Linked DNA regions of Homo sapiens: region 2 is linked to region 1. The links are contacts of gene promoters, found by promoter capture Hi-C in blood cells and fetal thymus (Javierre and others, 2016). All regions are on one chromosome and are shown on one strand. Each heading gives the region's core, a stretch centred on a gene start or on the middle of the fragment in contact. The rest is flanking DNA. Distances are from core to core; before and after follow the strand shown.

What was found. Contacts are between HindIII fragments. The CHiCAGO score rates a contact against its expected background, and 5 or more counts as called.
Region 2: a fragment that was not itself captured here is called in contact with the fragment with the promoter of NFRKB in region 1 in 3 of 17 cell types (non-activated CD4 T cells, naive CD4 T cells and total CD4 T cells); the score reaches 7.3 in non-activated CD4 T cells.

The regions. Positions count from the first base shown.
Region 1 is chr11:129,894,328-129,897,769 of GRCh38, forward strand. It overlaps NFRKB (nuclear factor related to kappaB binding protein), which reads right to left and starts at 1,251. Exons shown (of 27, transcript NM_001143835.2): 1 at 1,169-1,251; 2 at 32-111. RefSeq lists a silencer at 968-1,407. The HindIII fragment of the contact is 7,376 bases long and covers 1-3,442 here.
Region 2 is chr11:129,775,857-129,779,289 of GRCh38, forward strand. The region is part of intron 1 of LOC124902793 (a long non-coding RNA gene); the gene reads right to left. Among named protein-coding and RNA genes, the nearest start is that of TMEM45B, 38 kb to the right of the region's middle. The HindIII fragment of the contact is 1,016 bases long and covers 1,481-2,496 here.

The sequences.
Region 1 (3,442 bases), core at 1-2,500:
TTCCACAAACACCACATTCCACAAATCTTACCACGCCAGGTGTCAATTTCCTTATTTGAGGAAGGGAAGCTGGACCAGGTCCTCCCTCCCGTTATTTCCAATTCTGGAATCCTGCAATGAATAATCTCTAGATGAGTGACAGTGTGAATTACGTAATACAGGTACTTTTCTTTTCCAAAATTCTCCAATGATAAAGAACAGTTCTAGAATAACTATATGTAAAATGAAGCATGTTCCACTAAATTATTTCAAGCTCCCTTGAAGAGATTTCAGATCCATGTAAAGATATAGCAGAAACTTAAGCGTTGAGTCAAGTCACGTGGGTGGTCCCCAAGCAACTGTGCCCCCTCATCACCCTTCAGCACATGGTGAAATGACATCCTCATCATGCCTATGCCTAAATAAGTGAAGCGGGTGAGACAGCACATAGCATGTGAGTTTAACAAAACTTCAAAATAGCACCAAAAAAAAATTGCAGAAGCAACCTGATGCTCAGAATAAAACCTTCTTAACAGAACTGGCATAGAACAGACTATCAACTGCAAAGTCAGTGTCCTACCTGCCTCTTAGGAGGTCTCTATACAACTTGCTCACAAGTTTCTTCAGTGACGGTGCGTGTCTAGCTAAAGTTAATCTAGTCCACTGACAACCTTTGCACTGCCACTATTCTGAACAGAATCTCAAAATACCAAAACCAGGCAGCTGCCAGGGAGTTGGACCCCGGAAGCCAAGGATTTCCAGATCTTCGGGCGTTCTGAACCTCTTCACTAGACCACGAAGGCCTCTCGGCCTCTCATCACTGGCTTTCAGCACCTGGTCTAACTTTCCCCGCTGGACCCTCCCCAACGCAGAAGCTAAACCCTCGGGTCCTTCCAGAGCAACCGCCGGCTCCAAAGCCCTCAACTCTGCAGCAAATTCCCCTCCGGTGCCAGCCCGGCTGGCCCAAGGCCCGGGTCCAATCCTCAGAACTGCACGGCTCGGCCCCGCCCCTCCCCCACGCCGTGCCTAACCCTAACCCCCAGCCTCACGCGTCGCACCGCTCCCCACGCCCCGCTCCCGCTCCCCACGCCCACACGGGCAGCGACCTCGCGGACCCAGCCGCCCGCTCCCGCTCCCTCCACTCCCAGGAGACACTTCAACCCTTTCGCCGCCCCTTGCCCGCCCTCACCTGAACCGCGGGCGCCGGCCCCCTAACCCGCAGCCCTTCTCCGGCCGCGGGCTCCCAGACGCACTCGCTCCCGCAAGGAGTCTGGGTGCGCGCACGCTCTGGGCCTGCGCGGCGGAAGGGGCGGGGCAGCGCGGGGCGGGGCCTGGAGGGTGCCGGGGCGGGGCCACAGCGGGCGGGTCCTGGAGCGGCTCGGGAGAGCGGAGGGTCGGCGAGGGTGCCTGCGCGCGGCTGGGCCTGGGGATGCAGGTTCCAGCCTGCTTGCGCGTCTCACCTGATTTAGGAGCTTCCAGAGGCCCCAGACAGTGCCTGTCTTTGCCTGACCGCGAATCAAAGTTCCATAGCCCGTGAGCGAAGGCACGTCTATTAGCTGACGTTTGCAGAGAGCATACCCTGCCCCAGGCCCTATGCTAAGCACTTTCTACCCACCGTCTTTGTGCTGCAGCCCTGTGAGCTATGCACTATTAGTGCCCATTTTACAGTTGAGGACATGAGTAGAACGCGACCTCAGCCTGTGCTTCCGAGTTCCTTCATTCCTCCTTCCCGTCCCCGGGCCCTCGATGTCCAGAAAGAATGTAAACACATCGAAGGATCACATTTTAAAGTTAAACTCCATCATTTTCCTCTTCTTAGATATGAAGGCCCCTTTCCTGTTATTCACTGGGTTTTGCTTAGTACGGCTTCACACTACTTATTCCAGGTACTCCCAGCAGTGGCGCAGAGACCATCCTCAGTTCTGTGTGTGGATGGGACCAGAGAAGCCGGCCGGCCGAGCTAATGTTCTTCCCTTCCTGGAAGAGAGTAGTTTCCAAACAACCCGATCTCTGTTCCTCTACTGGCTCCACATATGCTCTAAGTTCCTGTTACACTGTTGAGAGGCTCTTGAATTAGAAACTATCGAGTATAAATGGCAGTGGAATATCACTCTATAGTTGTCACCGATATTTCCCTTACCTTGAGATTGTGACAAGACCAGAAAGAGAAAAAGAGTAAAAACAATGTAAACTATAATTTTTGATAGACTTTGTTTTTTTAAAGTGGTTTAAAGTTAACAAAATTGAGCAGAAAGATATTTTCCAAATACTCCCCGCCCCACCTCCCCACATGCATCGCCTTCCCTTTATCAACATCCTCTACCAGAGTGGTACATTTCTTAGAACTGATGAACCCGGCCCGGCCTGGTGGCTCACGCCTGTAATCCCAACACTTTGGGAGGCCGAGGCGGGCGGATCCCGAGATCAGGAGATCGAGACCATCCTGGCCAACATGGTGAAACCGCGTCTCTACTAAAAATACAAAAATTCGCCGGTCGTGGTGGCGGGCACCTGTAGTCCCAGCTACTCGGGAGCTGAGGCAGGAGAATTGCTTGAACCGGGGAGGCGGAGGTTGCAGTGAGCCGAGATTGAGCCATTGCACTCCAGCCTGTCGACAGAGCGAGACAGAGCGAGACTCCATCTCAAACAAAAGAACTGATGAACCTACATTGATACATCATTACCCACCATCACAGTATAATGCAGAGTAATTTCACTGTCTTAAAAATCATCTGTGCTCTGCATATTCATCTCTCCCTCTCCTCTACCCCTGGCAACCGCTGATCTTTTTGTCTCCATAGTTTTGCCTTTTTCCAGAGTGTCATCTAGTTGGAATTACATAGTATGTAGCCGTTTCAGATTGGCTTCCTTCCCGTAGTAACAGGCATTGAAGTTTCCTCCATGTCTTTTCATGGCTTGATAGCTCCTATTTCTTTTTAGTGCTGAATAATATTCCATTGTGTCGATATATCACAGTTTTATCTATTCGCTTACTGAAAGATATCTTCATTGTTTCCAGGTTTTGGCAATTATGAATCAAGCAATTATGAATCAAACAACCCAGAAATCCAACCACCCACTCCAGGCATCTTTGCATGAACGTATCAAAAACACCTCAGTCCCAATGCCCAGGATCTTCCCCTTTGAGAGGCTGAGATGGGTGGATCACTTGAGCCCAGGAATTGGAGACCAGCCTGGGCAATATGGTGAAACCCCATCTCTACTAAAATAAATACAAAAAATTAGCCAGGTGTGGTGGCACGTGCCTGTAGTCCCAGCTACTCAGGAGACTGAGGTGGGAGAATCGCTTGAGCCAGGGAGATCGAAGCTGCCGTGAGCTGTGATTGCACCACTGCACTCCAGCCTGGGCAACAGAGTGAAACCCTGTCTCAAAAAAGTAAAAAGAAAAATAAAACAACAAAGAATAAGTAAGACTTTTCCTTTACCTTCATTATTAAAGGTA
Region 2 (3,433 bases), core at 739-3,238, 120 kb before region 1:
TGAGAAGGGAAAAAATAAAACCGTGTTTGTTTGCAGATGTCATGATTACCTATGCAGACAATATAAAATAACCAAGAAAAAAAAACTTCTGGAATAAGTGATTATAGCAAGGGTGCAGGATGCAAGTTTAATATACAAAAGTCAGTCACTTTTCTTTTTCTTTTCTTTTAAGATGGAGTCTCACTCTGTCACCCAGGCTGGAGTGCAGTGGTGCGATCTCAGCTCACTGCAACCTCCGCCTCCCGGGTTCAAGTGATTCTTCTGCCTCAGCCTCCCGAGTAGCTGGGACTACAGGTGCACCACCACACCCGGCTAATTTTTGTATTTTTAGTAGAGACTGGGTTTCACCATATTGGCCAGGCTGGTCTCGAATTCCTGACCTTGTGATCTGCCTGCCTCGGCCTCCCAAAGTGCTCGGATTACAGGCATGAGCCACCGCGCCCAGCCAATCACTTTTCTTTATATCAACAATGAACAAGTGAAAACTGAAAAACATAATACCATTTATGTGCTCACTTTGGCAGCACGTATTCTAAAACACATAATACCATTTAAATTAGCACCCTGTAAAATGAAATACTTAGTTATAAATTTAACAAAATATGCACAAGATCTATGTAAGGCAAACTATAAAACCCTGATGAAAGAAATCAAAGAAAAACTAAATAAACGGATAGACAATTGATGTTCATGAATACAAGGACTCAATATTTTTAGGATGTCTGTTCTTCCCAACTTGATCTATAGATTCCAATGCAATCCCTGTCAAAATCCCAGCAAGTTTATTTCACAGATATCAACAGAGTATTCTAAATTTTATATGCAGAGCCAAAGCACACTTAATAGCCAATTCAATATTGAAAGAGAAGAACAAAGTTGGAGGACTGACACACCTGACTCGAAGACTTACTCTAAATCTACGATAATTAAGACAATGTGGTATTTGCAAAAGAATAAATCAATAGATCAATGGAACACAATAGAGTCCAGAAATTGACGCACATAAATATAGTCAACTGATCTTTGTCAAAGAACAAAGGCAATACGTTGAAGAAAAATAGAATGTTTGTTATAATAGACATCCACATTTAAAAAAAAAAAGAATCCAGACACAGACCTTACACCCTTCACAAAAATTAACTCAAAATGAATCGCAGACCTAAATATAAAACACAGACCTATAACGCTCCTAGAAGGTAATAGGACAAAATCTAGGTGAGCTTGGGTTTAGCAATAACTTTTTAGTTGTGACACCAAAGTCATGATCTATGAAAGAAAGAACTGATAAGTTGGACTTCATTAAAAGTAACAACTTCTGCTCAGCAAAGGACACTGTCAAGAGAATGAAAAGACAAGCCTTTGGGAGAAAATATTTGCAAAAGACATAATTGATAAAGGACTGTTATCCCCAATATACAAAGAATTCTTTAAAACTCAAAAATAAGATAACGAGAAACCCAATTTTTTAAATGGGCCAGCAAGCTTAACAGAACCTCACCAAAGAAGATAAACAAATAGCAAACAAACATATGAAAAGATATTCTACATCCTGTGTTACCATGGAAATACAAATTAAAATGATGATGAGATACTACTAACACCAATTAAAATGCCCAAAATTCAGAATACTGACACCACCAAACACTGGTGAGGATCTGTAGCAACAAGAACTCTCATTGCTGGTGGAAATGCAAAATGGTACAGCTACTTTGGAAGATACTTTGGAGGCTTCTTACAAAACTAAACATACCCTTACCATACAATCCAACCAGCACACTCCTTGGTATTTACCCAAAGGACTTGAAAACTTATGTCCACACAATTACCTACACATGGATACTTATAGAACCTAACTTTATTCCTAACTGGGAAATATTAGAAGAAACCAAGATGACCTCTAACAGTTAAATGCATAAATAAACCAGATACATCCAGACAAAAGGGTATCATTCAGCACTAAAATGAAATTATCAAGCCATGAAGCGACACGAAAGAAACTTAAATGCAAATTACTAAGTGAAAGAAATCAGTCTGAAAAGGCTACATACTGTATGATTCCAACTACATGACATTCCGTAAAGGCAAAACTATTAAGACAGGAAAAAGATCAATGGTTGCCAATGATTGGAGTGGAAGGAAGGGTGAAGGTGGGACACAGGATTTTTAGGGCAGTGAAACTACTCTGTATGACACTGAAATAGTGGATGCATGTCATTATACATGTGTTCAACCCCATAGAATGTACAGCACCAACGGTGAACCCTAATGTCAACTATGTCAATAAAGGTTCATCAGTTGCAACAAATAGGCCATTTTGGTAGGGGTTGCTGGTCGTGGGGAGGCCATGCATGTGTGGGTGCAGGTGAATATGGGAAATCACTGTGCCTTTTGCTAAATTTTGTTTAGAAGAGAACAGAACCCAACCTAGTATGTTCCAGTAGTAACAGTTATTCGCATGGGGGCTGAAAACATTAAAAACAGGTGGGTGGGGTCAGAAGCTTACCTGAGAGAAAATGGAAAGGAGATGAAAACAAAAAGGACCAAGGAACAAATGCAATGAATAGAAAACAAATATCAAGACGACGCATTGTAACCAAAGCATATTGGTAATCTTGATATTAGTTATAAATGTACTAAACAATTATAGACTACATACAAGAAACCCATTTTTGCTCATATTTATTTTATTTTGATTTTTTAATGCTGCACAAGACAATATCTATTTTTTCTTGTATTTATATGCTGCTATTTACTGAAAGTGAGAGGGACCTTATGTGGCCTTTTTCTTTTTCTGTAGGCCACCTTAGAGCTTTCTAAATTTGGAATACTTGATCAAGCTGAAAGAAAAAGGGAGTTTCACAAAATCAATGGGGGTGGGGAGGGGAAGGCTGCTTCATTAATTATGCCCTGTGGTGGTTGATTAACTGCTTGTACAATTGTTTCACTTTTAATAAATTACGCTTACAGTGCTCCTGCTGATGAAGGCACCTGAGCTGAATACAGTTACATCCGGGGTACAAGTGAAGGGACAGTGGCATTAGTGGCAGTTATATCCACTAGCAGGGCCAATTCTCAGAAAAGTCGCAGCCATGTGGGCCCTGTGGGGCTTGAGAGTAGCATCCTCAGGAATAGGTGATGAGCAAATTCTGGAAAGTGGTCCCAGAAGTCAGGCCTCGGCAGCAGAGCAGGTCTCAGGTGCTTGGCATGCAGTCGGCCTGCTGGCTGACACGATCTTGCCTGGGAAGCATGGGACACAGTTCATGGGCTGCTACTGGTGGGAGCCAGGGTAATGGGGTGCACATCCACCCTCCTGAAACAGGTCAGGGTCACTGTTCTCTTTGTCTAAGGTATTATCTGAGCTCGTGGTCTCACAACCAAGAAAATTAAAGAGCATGGACACAAAGGGTGAGGTTGGAGCAAAAATTTAATAAGC